3 separate regions of the Homo sapiens genome follow, and all the other regions are linked to region 1. Evidence: promoter capture Hi-C in 16 types of primary human blood cells and fetal thymus (Javierre and others, 2016). All regions are on one chromosome and are shown on one strand. The core of a region is centred on a gene start or on the middle of the fragment in contact, and the rest is flanking DNA. Distances in the headings are between cores, read along the strand shown.

Region 1 (3,828 bases), core at 804-3,303:
CAGGCCATGTCTACAGCAAGAGCTTCCAAACACTGTTTTACTTCCCCACAGGGCTGGTCCCCTCCTACTTGACAGAATGAACTTTCTGAAATATAAATCTGACGACATCATTTTCCTGCATAAAACCCTTCAAAGCATCTCCATAGCTTTCAGGGTAAAAATCCAAATTCCTTAGCATGACTTACAATGTCCTCCACATATGACTGACCTGACCACATCTCACTTCCTCCACTTCCCCAGCCATTACTAGAATTCCAGTCACACTGAACTCGTCATGGTCTTTCAGCTGTCCGGTTCTCCAGGTCCTTGCACCTGTAGTAGTCTCTGCCTGGAAATCCCTTTTCCGGATTCCCTATGTAGCTAAATAAATATTTCAAGAGTTAGCCTCCCATTTCCTCCTGGAACCCTGGGCACCTGGCTCAGGTATTTCTCCACTGTGCTCTTGTAGCCCTGTGCTATGCACTATGACACTGTAAGCCATCCCTCATTTACTTGTCTATTTCCTCTCCCACTGTAAACTCCAGAAGAACTGTATTCTTTGCCACAAAGGCTATCTCATTAAAATGTGCCTCATACATATTAAGGTCTTAATAAACGTCTGGTGGGGCCGGGCACGGTGGATCATGCCCGTAATCCCAGCACTTTGGGAGGCCGAGGTGGGGGGATCACCTGAGGTTAGGAGTTCGAGAGCAGCCTGGCCTTCACGGCGAAACCCCATCTCTACTAAAAATACAAATAAATAAATTAAATAAAAGTCTGGTAAATGATAAATGTGCTGATATGCCCCCGGATTTTCTCTTGAAGAGAGAGCCCCACAAAGAGCTTCAACTGACACAGTTCTGATGCTAACCTGTCTCAAATGTTCTCATTCCACTCTTCGAACGCATTCCTATTTATCCTTCAAAATTCATCTTAAAAACTCTGCTTCTTCAGAAGGGCTTTTCCTGAACCCCCTGTTACATACTTTCAGAGCACCCTGTTCTTTCCTAACACTCATCAACATTTATAATTACTTCTTAAACATCCCTGCAAACACTGCTAGCTCCACGCGGGCAGGGTCTACATTGTTTTGTTTTAAAGCTGCATTCCCCGCATCTGGGAAAATGCTGGCACAGAATAAACACAATTTGTTACGCTGAATTTAATCTTGTGGGGTCAGCAGAGATCTCCACTTAAAAGATGAACAAAAGGAGGCTGAAAGAAGTTTAAGGCACCTATGGCCACAGACACTCAGCACTGAGGCCAGACCAAACCTGAGCCGTCTGATTTCAGGTCCAGAAGTACATACCTTCAATGTTAGCCTGGCTTGTCAAAGTAAGAGCAGCAGCCGAGGAGGAAAGGGAGGATATCTGCCTGTAAATACAAGGATGTGCCCGCCTTTCTTTTAAAAACTCCCTAGGCATTTCAAACGGCTCAATTTGGGAGGAGAGAAAAAAAAAAGTTCCACGCAGCGCTGGCCTTTAACCTGCAGCAGCCTGCGGGGCAACACCGACCGGAAGACCATCCCAAGTTAGAGAGGTTCCGAGCAACACGGGAAGAACTGGGGCTGGTTATCTAAGGCACCAGGATCATGATTCCGATTCTTTTCCTCACTCGCTATATATCTCAGACTAGCCTCTTCTCTAGGGATCAATTTACCTATCAGTGCAATGGGAGCATCAACAGGAGACAGGGAAGACTCTCCGATCTCGGAGGTTCCTTCCAGTCAGAGCACCTCAGGAATCAGGCCTCCGCTGAAGCTGATGGGCAGCGCTGCGAAATCGGGCAGAGGGGCCTCCCCGGGGCACCCGGACTCAGCTGCTCACCCCGGCCCCACCTCAAGAGACCGCGCCCAAGAGTCCGGGTCGGCCTGAGGGCCTCAGCCCCGGCCCTCTCGGCAGGGTTCATGACACGCGCGTAGGCCAGAAGGGCCATTAACACCACCAGGGGCCGATGGGCCCCGGAAGGGACCCCAATCCCTACCAAGCTGCACACCCTCACCTCAGAGTTCCGCCTCACCTCCGGACTGCGATCAGCCGCTCTCCGCTTCCGGCAAGAACCGCCCAGCAATCTCCGCGCGACCCACTTCCGGGCCCTCACTGGGCGCGGCGCCCCCACCGGAAATGAGCCGCCGGCTGAAGCGCTAGGCTGGCCCGCGACTGGGCAGGAAGTCTCACCGCCCCGCTCGTGACTCCGCCCCTCTTCGCCACGCCCCGGAGAGAGCGGCCCGGCTCTCACAGAGGGCACTTGGGAAAGAGCCCCGCCCTCAAGGCGGGAGCGACACGGGGAGGGCGGGCTCACAAGAGAGGCCACGCCCTCGTTCCGCTTTACCTACCCGGAATCGCCCCCGAGGCCCGGGCCCAGGAAGGGCAGAAGTCCCTGGCTAAGCTCCTCTCTGGAAAGAACAGAAGAGTGACCAGTTCCTCTGTCAGTTTGGTCTCAATGGCAGAGGCCGGTTCCTTTAAGCTGCAGTCCGTAAAGGGTCTTGGAACGACTGGGGGCCAGGATTCTCTGAGGGCGGGAATCCGGGCGGCCGTCAGCTCTCGGTGGTGATCGAGGCCACGCTCCGCCTGTCTCTGGGCGTGCATACCTCGGTTTCCCCGTTTGTGACGTGGGAAGGCAATTAGTCTGGACATTGTTGTGGGAGGACTTGCGGAGACTGGGCGCAGGGCGTGGGGGTCAGTGAGGGCGCGGTGGGTCAGCCCCAGCCCGGCTGGCAGTCGCGGGGCTGGGAAGGTAGGGAACCCTCCGCTCTCACCCCACTTCCTGTTTGGTCGGTGTGTTCTGTGACCATAGATGGTCAAGTCTGGGGCCGCGCGGAAGCCTCCGCCCTGTGGTTTTGGAGCCCTTCCTCCCGGCGCGCAGGGTGTGGTCCCCGAGAATAAGATGAGCAGAATTAAAGCAGATCCTGCACCCACTCTGCTGAAATCCGGCTTCTGAGGCAGCCTCGCCCAGGGCTGGGTGGGCTCAGGCGGCTGCTACTCGGTTCAGGGGAGGTTACGCACGGTGGCTGCCGCGCGCAGGGGAGGCTTCGCTTCCGTACTCCTTGGGCCGGGAGATCCGATCTTTGTTCCCTCAAGACTCACACTCTCCAACCGGTCATTATCCTCCCACAAAGATTTATTTCTAGAAAAAATTGGCAAGTGCCACAGTTCCCGCCCCTTCAGCTGAACGACTGTGACAGCTCCGTGTTTCAAGTTGAATGCAGGCGTTATGTGCCAGAGTCAATCATTCAACAAATAAAGTTCTTAAAATAACAGCTACCATTTACTGCACGCTGACTACTTGCCAGGCCCATGCTGAGTTCTTCAAGCGTATTTTCATTTACTCCTAATAGCAACTCTCGGTGGTAGGTACCATTATGCCCTCTAGTTTTCAAATGAGGAAGCTGAATAACTTGCCAAGGTCAGAAAGTAACTGTTGAAACTTTGAAGGAAACACATCTGTCTGACTCTAAATCCCATGAGCTTAATTAGCCCCTGTGATAGACCATACTGCAGACATTTGAGGCAGATTTGAGGTGGTGAATGCCTCTGGATCTGGAGACACTGGGTTCCAGTGCTGGCATAGGCCCTCTACTAGGGGTCAGACTTTGGTCAGGTTACTTTGGACGGGTTACTGGGCCTCTTCCTAACTTTATGGCTCCCAGCATGTTTAAAAGAACATGACAACATGAAAAAATATGGTATAAAAGTCATAGTATATTTTAAATATTGACATTTAACTAAAAACACTGTCTCACACACACACAAACTCTAACTTTATTTGGACATAATCTTTGACTCTGCATTTAGTTATTCTAAATCTCTTTCTGGATTAGAGACAGAAGGAACATAGACCATACACGCA
Region 2 (3,828 bases), core at 515-3,014, 820 kb before region 1:
TGGGCGCAGTGGCTCATGCCTGTAATCCTAGCACTTTGGAAGCCTGAGGTGAGAGGGTCACTTGAGGCCAGGGATTCGAGATAAGCCTGAGGCCCTCCTCACTCCCCCACGCCGCCCCTCCCCCCCGCTCCCTTCTCTATTTAAAAAAATAAGAAGAAAGAGGGAAGAAAAGACCTTGGGCCCCTGAATTCTCACTCTAGGGCTCTCCCCTCTACATCAACTGGATAAACCCAAGTTCCAGGAAGTCCCAAGGATGCCACAGGTCGGGGGAAGGTCAGAGAAGGGAGAGAGAGTGTCAAATGCGTGGAGGGTAAGGTTCTGGGAGGCTGTCTCCTGGCCACAGGAAAGACTCCAGTTGCCCTAAGGACTTGGAAAACACATGGCATTCACACGCTAACTCTGGCTGCCTGTGACCTCAGGACAGCCACTTTCTCTTTGTGTGCTTCTCCTTATCACTGAAATGGGGCTGATAATCCATGCCCTGCCCCCAACAAAATACTTGTAGAATGTAAAGCACTTTAAAAGTCCAAGTTATTATTGCTGTTATCAAGAGAAGGCCCTTTGGGACAGAACTTAAATAGCCTTGGCCGGGCGCGGTGGCTCACGCCTGTAATTCCAGCACTTTGGGAGGCCGAGGCGGGCGGATCACGAGGTCAGCAGATCGAGACCATCCTGGCTAACACGGTGAAACCCCGTCTCTACTAAAAATACAAAAAAAATTAGCCGGGCGTGGTAGCGGGCGCCTGTAGTCCCAGCTACTCGGGAGACTGAGGCAGGAGAATGGCGTGAACCCGGGAGGCGGAGCTTGCAGTGAGCCAAGACAGCGCCACTGCAGTCCAGCCTGGGCGAAAGAGCGAGACTCCGTCTCAAAAAAAAAAAAAAAAAGAACTTAAATAGCCTTTCTTTCATCTAAGGGACACTTTTGAGCATCTACCACATACCAGGCACTGTGCTAGGCACTGTGCACACATGCCCTCACTTACCCCTCACAAAGGGTCAGTGCTGCTGTTCTTTACCTTTTACAGATGAAGAAACTGAGGCTCAGCTGAGAGTTGCAATTCATTCCATCATTAGTTCATTCACTCAGCTTTTACTAAAAGCCTGCTCTGGGCCAGGCTCTGGGCCAAGTGCTGAGAAGAAGAAGATGAACAAGTCCTTCAGGAGACGTGCCCATAAATTAATAACAACTAAGTACATGCTTCAACAGACAAGGTGCAGTGGGAACTAGAGGGGGAGCAACAGGCTCTCCTGGGGGTTATGGGAATGGACAGCTGACCTCCTGCGGGGACCCTGCACCGCTAAGGTGCATGCGCCCTGTGTAGCTGTGCAGTCTCACTTTGATCAAGGCTTTGCTGTGTATTTCCAGGAAGCCTCTTCCGCCACTGAGCCTCGGTCTCTACCTGGAAAGTTAAAAGGTTGCGTAGGCCTGACATCCTGCAGCTCTTGGGGGGCCTAAAACTCTGGCCCTCCCACCCCACCTTCTGGTCAGTTCAAGCTCTACCCCAGCCAAGTCCGATTCCGAAGCCCTGAGGGCCAGACCGAATCCCTCCGAAAGTGCCAAATACCCCGCCCCAGGGCGGTGCTCAGAGCCTGGGGCGTGGCCGGAGTCCCAAGGGGCGGGGTTCCAGTGGGAGGGGCGGGGCCAAGACCTAGATGCAGGCGTGCGCGGCCCGCCCAGAAGCGTCTCGCCCAGCCAATGAGCGTCCGAGGGCGGGGAAGCCCCGCCTCTGGGTATAAGAATACGCCGAGCCCAGCTACGCGACGCGGAGGTTTCGGAGCACTACAGGTTGCGGGCCTTTGTGACCCCAGGCTGCGGCCGCAAGGTGCGCAGTAGTGGGCTGGGCCGGGGCACCAGTCGGGTTTGGTTTTGCTCCGCCCGGCCGAGCTGCAGGGACCGCACGGTGCCCGGGTCTCCCGCCGCAGAGCAGCCGCTGGCCCGGGCCGGGGGAGCCGGCGCTGACCACCGCGCGCTGTCCCCGCAGGCAGCCGGCCTGCCGCCATGGCCGACCACCTGATGCTCGCCGAGGGCTACCGCCTGGTGCAGAGGCCGCCGTCCGCCGCGGCCGCCCATGGCCCTCATGCGCTCCGGACTCTGCCGCCGTACGCGGGCCCGGGCCTGGACAGTGGGCTGAGGCCGCGGGGGGCTCCGCTGGGGCCGCCGCCGCCCCGCCAACCCGGGGCCCTGGCGTACGGGGCCTTCGGGCCGCCGTCCTCCTTCCAGCCCTTTCCGGCCGTGCCTCCGCCGGCCGCGGGCATCGCGCACCTGCAGCCTGTGGCGACGCCGTACCCCGGCCGCGCGGCCGCGCCCCCCAACGCTCCGGGAGGCCCCCCGGGCCCGCAGCCGGCGCCAAGCGCCGCAGCCCCGCCGCCGCCCGCGCACGCCCTGGGCGGCATGGACGCCGAACTCATCGACGAGGAGGCGCTGACGTCGCTGGAGCTGGAGCTCGGGCTGCACCGCGTGCGCGAGCTGCCCGAGCTCTTCCTGGGCCAGAGCGAGTTCGACTGCTTCTCGGACTTGGGGTCCGCGCCGCCCGCCGGCTCCGTGAGCTGCTGAGGGCGGCCGGCGCCCGCCCGGCGTGCCGGAGAGGAGAAAGGGCCCGACTGCCCGCCGGACCCTGCACCCAGCGACTGGGCCCCGCGCGCGCCCTCCGCGAGGGTGGAGGCGGCGGCTGTGTGCGCAGGGCCCGGCACCGGACTGGGACCCTGGCGTCCCTCCAGGCCTTGCCTCCTGCGGGAGGACAGTTTGGCTTCACTTCTCTGACCCCAGCCTCGGCCGTAAAGTGAAAGAGACCGGACCAGCTTCAGCTTTCGGACTCTGGTTCTTGGATCGTGTCCTCTCCCCCTCGCCGCCCTCTTCCCCCAATCTGAGCCATTGCAGGCCTCTGCCTGCTGCCCCCTCTCTCCTCGGGATCGGGTCCCCAGAGCCACCATCTCCTGAGCCTCCCACCCCGCTGCCTGGGCCCTGTGGTTGCTGGGCCTCCCACCTCAAGGAGGGGAAGGTTGTACAGCCCGAACCCGTGGAGCAATGCCCTGTCTGGCCTCCAAAACCAAAATAAAACTGGGTCACTTTACAGTCTTGCCGTTTTCATTTCCTTATCACCCCGAGCCCTGACTATATTTAGCTTCCAAAGTCCCAAGGTTGCTGAAGACACTGGATGGCATGGGGGCCACAGTCCCCAGCAGTGCCCAGGAGAGGAAACCGACAGTTTCTTTCAAAAATATCTCGTGGGTTGTGCAATTGTTATGTCACAACCTGGAGGGCAGAGGCTGCCACTGGGTGGTGGGGTAACCCACTGGGCTTCCCAGCTCCTAGGGTAGGGTGGGGGGAGCTTGGTGCTCTGCCAGAGAGGAGCTGGGTGGCACCGAGTTCAGACAGCCTAGCTTTGGACCCTGACTCTCTCCTTTGCCCAAGACACCATCCGTTCTGATTTTTGAGGCGGTTTCCCAGAGGGAGATGGTCCCCGTCTCCTCAGGTAGTTACGCTGCCTTTAGCACAGTGCCAAATACCTGGGCAGTTCTCAGTAAGTGACGGCAATTATTATTCTACAAATTGGTGCTGATTTTATTCCAGGCCCTGTGTCAACCTGGTGCATGTTCTCATGGAATCACAGCCCAGGTGGGAGGAGGTGGGTGATAGGCCTGAAAACAAACTAATCTTGCTGCAAGGAAGACTGTGATGAGTTCTAGAAAACAGTGCTAAGCAGCACTTTGGGAGGCCGAGACGGGCAGATCACGAGGTCAACAGATCGAGACCATCCTGGCTAATATGGTGAAACCCCGTCTCTACTAAAAATATAAAAATTAGCTGGGCATGGTGGTGCGCGCCTA
Region 3 (3,828 bases), core at 961-3,460, 640 kb before region 1:
CTGAACTAACATGAAGGGAAAGAGGACAGGATGCATCCTACCATAGCACATCTTCTGTACCCCATTAGCCACAGGAGTAGGAACATGACCCAGTCTGACCAATCAGCGATCTCCCACATCTTGGCCCAGTACCTCCTCATAGCCTCTCAGGGTAATTTGGCTCCCAGACAATTAGCCACTTGGTCCACCTCAACAACAGACATAGCTGACCAAATCTAAGCGAGGTCTCACAGTTCTGTTGCTTGAGGCCATCAAGTTACAAACATGGAGTCTATGGCTTCTCCTGCAACTTCCAGACCCTGATGAAACACCACCTCACAGAGCGTGGGATTTGGCTTCCTGAGCAGCTGCTGAAGGAGCCAGTGAAGCAACCTACTACAGAGGATTTAGCTACCCACAGAGCAAACTGATCAATGGGAGACAGGAAGGAGCTGGCTATAACAATCCACTCTTCCCTTCCTTCCTCTAATGAGCTGTTTCAAGATAAAATTTCTCCATACAACCTGTCTAGAGAGACATTCTCCATGGCCAAGTGGGTGCGCCTGTCAAGAGACTAGCTACAGCTCATTGTGAAGTAGCCAGCAAACATTTCCTTCCCTTGCTTCTCATGTTTTCCCACTTTCTCTTATCCTTAATTCTCACTACTCCATGGCTGTGCCCCTCATATAAAGCTTTAGCACTTAATCCCTTCTTCCGGCTTTGTTTTCTAGGAAACCTTGCTAAAACAGATCACAGTTTTTGAAGAGATGGGCACATCACCCAAACTAAGCTAAGAAAAGCCCTTCTAAAGATTTGAAATATATAAGAAAGACAGGATTTTTCTTCTGGAGATCTTGAGCTATGAGGAACTGAGGGCAGCCATTATTCTTGCTTCATGGAAAGAGCCTTTCTAAGAATGAAGACATCACAGAGGAAGGCAGAATTCAGACAGAGAGGGAGACAGAGTCCTGACATCCTTTGAACACCTAGATCCAACTTTCCCCAATATGTGTAACCATTTTGTCATTGCTTTATCATTCTGAAGACCAGTTTTCCCAATCCATGTCATATAAAACATGGTAACCAATTAGTCCCAAGTTGCCTCCATTCAAAAAATCATCCAGGTGACTAGATTCTTAGGCTCAATTTCAAATTTCTGGGAGGAAGAGCTCTTGTTAGAGCTAGCTTTGGCCAAATGTCCACCACTGAATCAAGTATCATTATGGAAAGGGGGACAGGGTCATGCATAAACATGGTTGTATCTACTGTAACTCTATGAATGAAGGTATGCTGGAGGGTAGAGGATAGAGTAACACTTCTCAGAAAAGTAGGAGTAAAGGATTAGGCAGACTAAACAATGTCTGTCCACTTCCTGAGAATAAATAAAGGAAAAGAGGGTAAAGAGGTCAGAGGACAGAACCTTTATCTAACCAACACTATCCAACAGAGCTTTCTGCAGTGGTAGAAATGCTTTATATCTGTGCTGTTCAATACAGTAGCCACTAGCCACGTGTAGCTGTTGAGCATTTGAAAGATGGTTAGTGCAACCAAGAAATTGAATTTTTCATTTTGTTTACATTGAAATAGCTACAGGTAGTATCTTAGTTTTCTGCTGCTATAACAAAATACCAAAGACTGGGTAATTTATAAACAAAGGAAATGTATTTGGGTTGTGGTTCTGGAGGCTGGAAAGCCCAAGAGCATGGCACCAGCATTTGCTCGACATCTGGTGAGGGCCTTCTTGCCACACCATAACGTGGCAGAAGATATCACATGGTGAGGAAGTGTGCATGTGAGAGAGGGAGGGGGGCCAAACGTATCCTTTTATCTGGAGTCCACTCCCTCCATAACTAACCCATTCCCATGCATTAATCCATTTATGAGGGCAGAGCCCTCGTGACCTCATCACCTCTTAAGTGTTCCACTTCTCAACGTTGTTAAAATAGCAATTAAATTTCAACTTGAGTTTTGGAGGGACATTCAAACCATAGCATGTAGCGAATGACTGCATATTAGACAGCATAGGTCTAGACTATTGGTCTACTTTGGGAAGCAGCATGGAATATTGTCTGCAGCATGTGCTTTGAAGTTAGCCTGAGTTCGAGTCCCCATTCCATTTACTTAACCTCTCTGAGCTAGAGAGGTGAAAGATGCAAAGAAAGTTGTATGTAATACCACAAAGAGAGAAAGAGACAAAAGATCTGCAAAAGTTCAGCCAGGCACAGTGACTCATGCCTTTGGGAGGCCAAGGCAGGCAGATCATGAGGTCAGGAGTTCAAGACCAGCCTGGCCAACATGGTGAAACCCTATCTCTACTAAAAATACAAAAATTAGCTGGGTGTGATGGTAGGTGCTTGTAGGCCCAGCTACTCGGGAGGCTGAGGCAGGAGAATCGCTTGAACCCGGGAGGCAGAGGTTGCAGTGAGCCGAGATCACACCACTGCACTCCAGCCTGGTTGACAGAGCAAGATTCCATCTCAAAAAAAAAAAAAAAAAGATCTGCAAAGGGTCAAAGAATCAGCTGGATTTGGCAATTAAGGGACTATGAGTGAATTAAGACAGAGAAGTATTAAAAGTGTGATTGTTTAAAATCCAAACCAGCTATCCATCTACCTTTTGTACATCTGCTAAATTCCTTTCCTCTGGAGGGGGACTCCAGGCAGGGAGAGAATGGGAATGCAAAAGTTACCTCGTCTCTTAATCCTCTTGGTCACATGGGGAGCGAGAACTCAAAAGTGTGTCCTGAAGATGGGGTTCCAAGCCAAAAAAAAAATCAGAACCATGGTCAGTCACGGGGTGTGAAGCCAAAGGTGGGGTTGCCTAGTCCAAGGAAGCCACAAGGAAAGAACACCTCAAATACATACCCTCTTTACATAGCACTTACACTGTGGCTAGACTGTAAGTCCTTTAAGGTTCAGGGCTAAGTGTATGATGGTACTATCAGCCCCTGGTAAGTGCCTGGTACCATAATAGGTACTTAATTAACAATAGGTACCTAAACAACAACATTGAATGAATGAATGAATGAATGAAAGTAAGCCAGTCCACTCTCTAGTGCATGGTAGACATTCCATAATATAATGTTCATTAAGTTATTAGAGGGAGGCCAGGCATGGTGGCTCATGCCTGTAATCCCAGTACTTCAGGAGGCCAAGGCAGGCAGATCACCTGAGGTCAGGAGTTCAAGGCCAGCATGGCCAACATGGTGAAACTCCATCTCAACTAAAAATACAAAAATTAGCTGGGTGGGGTGGTGGGCACCTGTAATTCCAGCTACTTGGGAGGCGGAGGCAGGAAAATCACTTGAACCTGGAAGGTGGAGGGTGCAGTGAGCCAAGATGGCACCACTGCACTCCAGTCGGAGTGACAAGAGCAAAACTCAGTCTCAAATAAATAATAAAATAAAAAGTTATTAGAGGGAGAAAACCCTGTATTGAGAAGCTACCAGGGAATCTTTTTTGACCTGGAAACTCTGTTTGTCAGGTCCTTGCCTGGCACAGAGGAATTCTTCAACAAGTGATCTCTATGATAATTATTATTAAATAGGGAGTAAGGTTTTGTATATGGCCTGGGGAAGGCCTTGATAATAATAAGAGCTAAAATGTGTTGATCTCATTTAATCCTTAAACCAACTCAATGAGACAGGTTTTATTAGATTAATTTTACAGGTGATAATTTTTTTTTCAGATGAGAAAATTTAAAGAAGACGTGTAATTTCTCCAAAGTCGCCCAGCTCAGAAATGGTAGGACTGGTATTGAACCTAAGCTTAACGCAACTCCAGAGTCCAGGCTCCAACAGAGGTTTGGGAGCCAGGGAGCAGAAGGAGGCTCAAGAGAGGGGCTTAAGGA

What was found. The method cuts DNA at HindIII sites, captures the fragments that hold promoters and counts their contacts. A CHiCAGO score of 5 or more calls a contact.
Region 2: a contact is called between the fragment with the promoter of CITED4 here and the fragment with the promoter of CAP1 in region 1, in 1 of 17 cell types (neutrophils). The highest score is 5.5, in neutrophils.
Region 3: a fragment that was not itself captured here is called in contact with the fragment with the promoter of CAP1 in region 1 in 1 of 17 cell types (neutrophils); the score reaches 6.7 in neutrophils.

The regions. Positions count from the first base shown.
Region 1 is chr1:40,038,954-40,042,781 of GRCh38, reverse strand. CAP1 (cyclase associated actin cytoskeleton regulatory protein 1) reads right to left here and starts at 2,053. Exons shown (of 13, transcript NM_006367.4): 1 at 1,981-2,053. It overlaps LOC105378669 (a long non-coding RNA gene), which reads left to right and starts at 2,336. Exons shown (of 3, transcript XR_001738013.3): 1 at 2,336-3,828. RefSeq lists enhancers at 1,754-1,843, 1,914-2,113, 1,767-2,401, 2,364-2,433, 2,402-3,035. The HindIII fragment of the contact is 17,502 bases long and covers 1-3,828 here.
Region 2 is chr1:40,860,299-40,864,126 of GRCh38, reverse strand. It overlaps CITED4 (Cbp/p300 interacting transactivator with Glu/Asp rich carboxy-terminal domain 4), which reads left to right and starts at 1,764. Exons shown (of 1, transcript NM_133467.3): 1 at 1,764-3,073. The coding sequence starts at 2,000. The coding sequence ends at 2,554. LOC124904157 (a long non-coding RNA gene) reads right to left here and starts at 1,743. Exons shown (of 3, transcript XR_007066025.1): 1 at 1,017-1,743. RefSeq lists an enhancer at 1,378-1,437 and silencers at 1,538-1,737, 1,898-1,977. The HindIII fragment of the contact is 10,972 bases long and covers 1-3,828 here.
Region 3 is chr1:40,681,389-40,685,216 of GRCh38, reverse strand. It overlaps a transcript of RIMS3 not described here. Among named protein-coding and RNA genes, the nearest start is that of NFYC, 8.4 kb to the left of the region's middle. The HindIII fragment of the contact is 3,074 bases long and covers 674-3,747 here.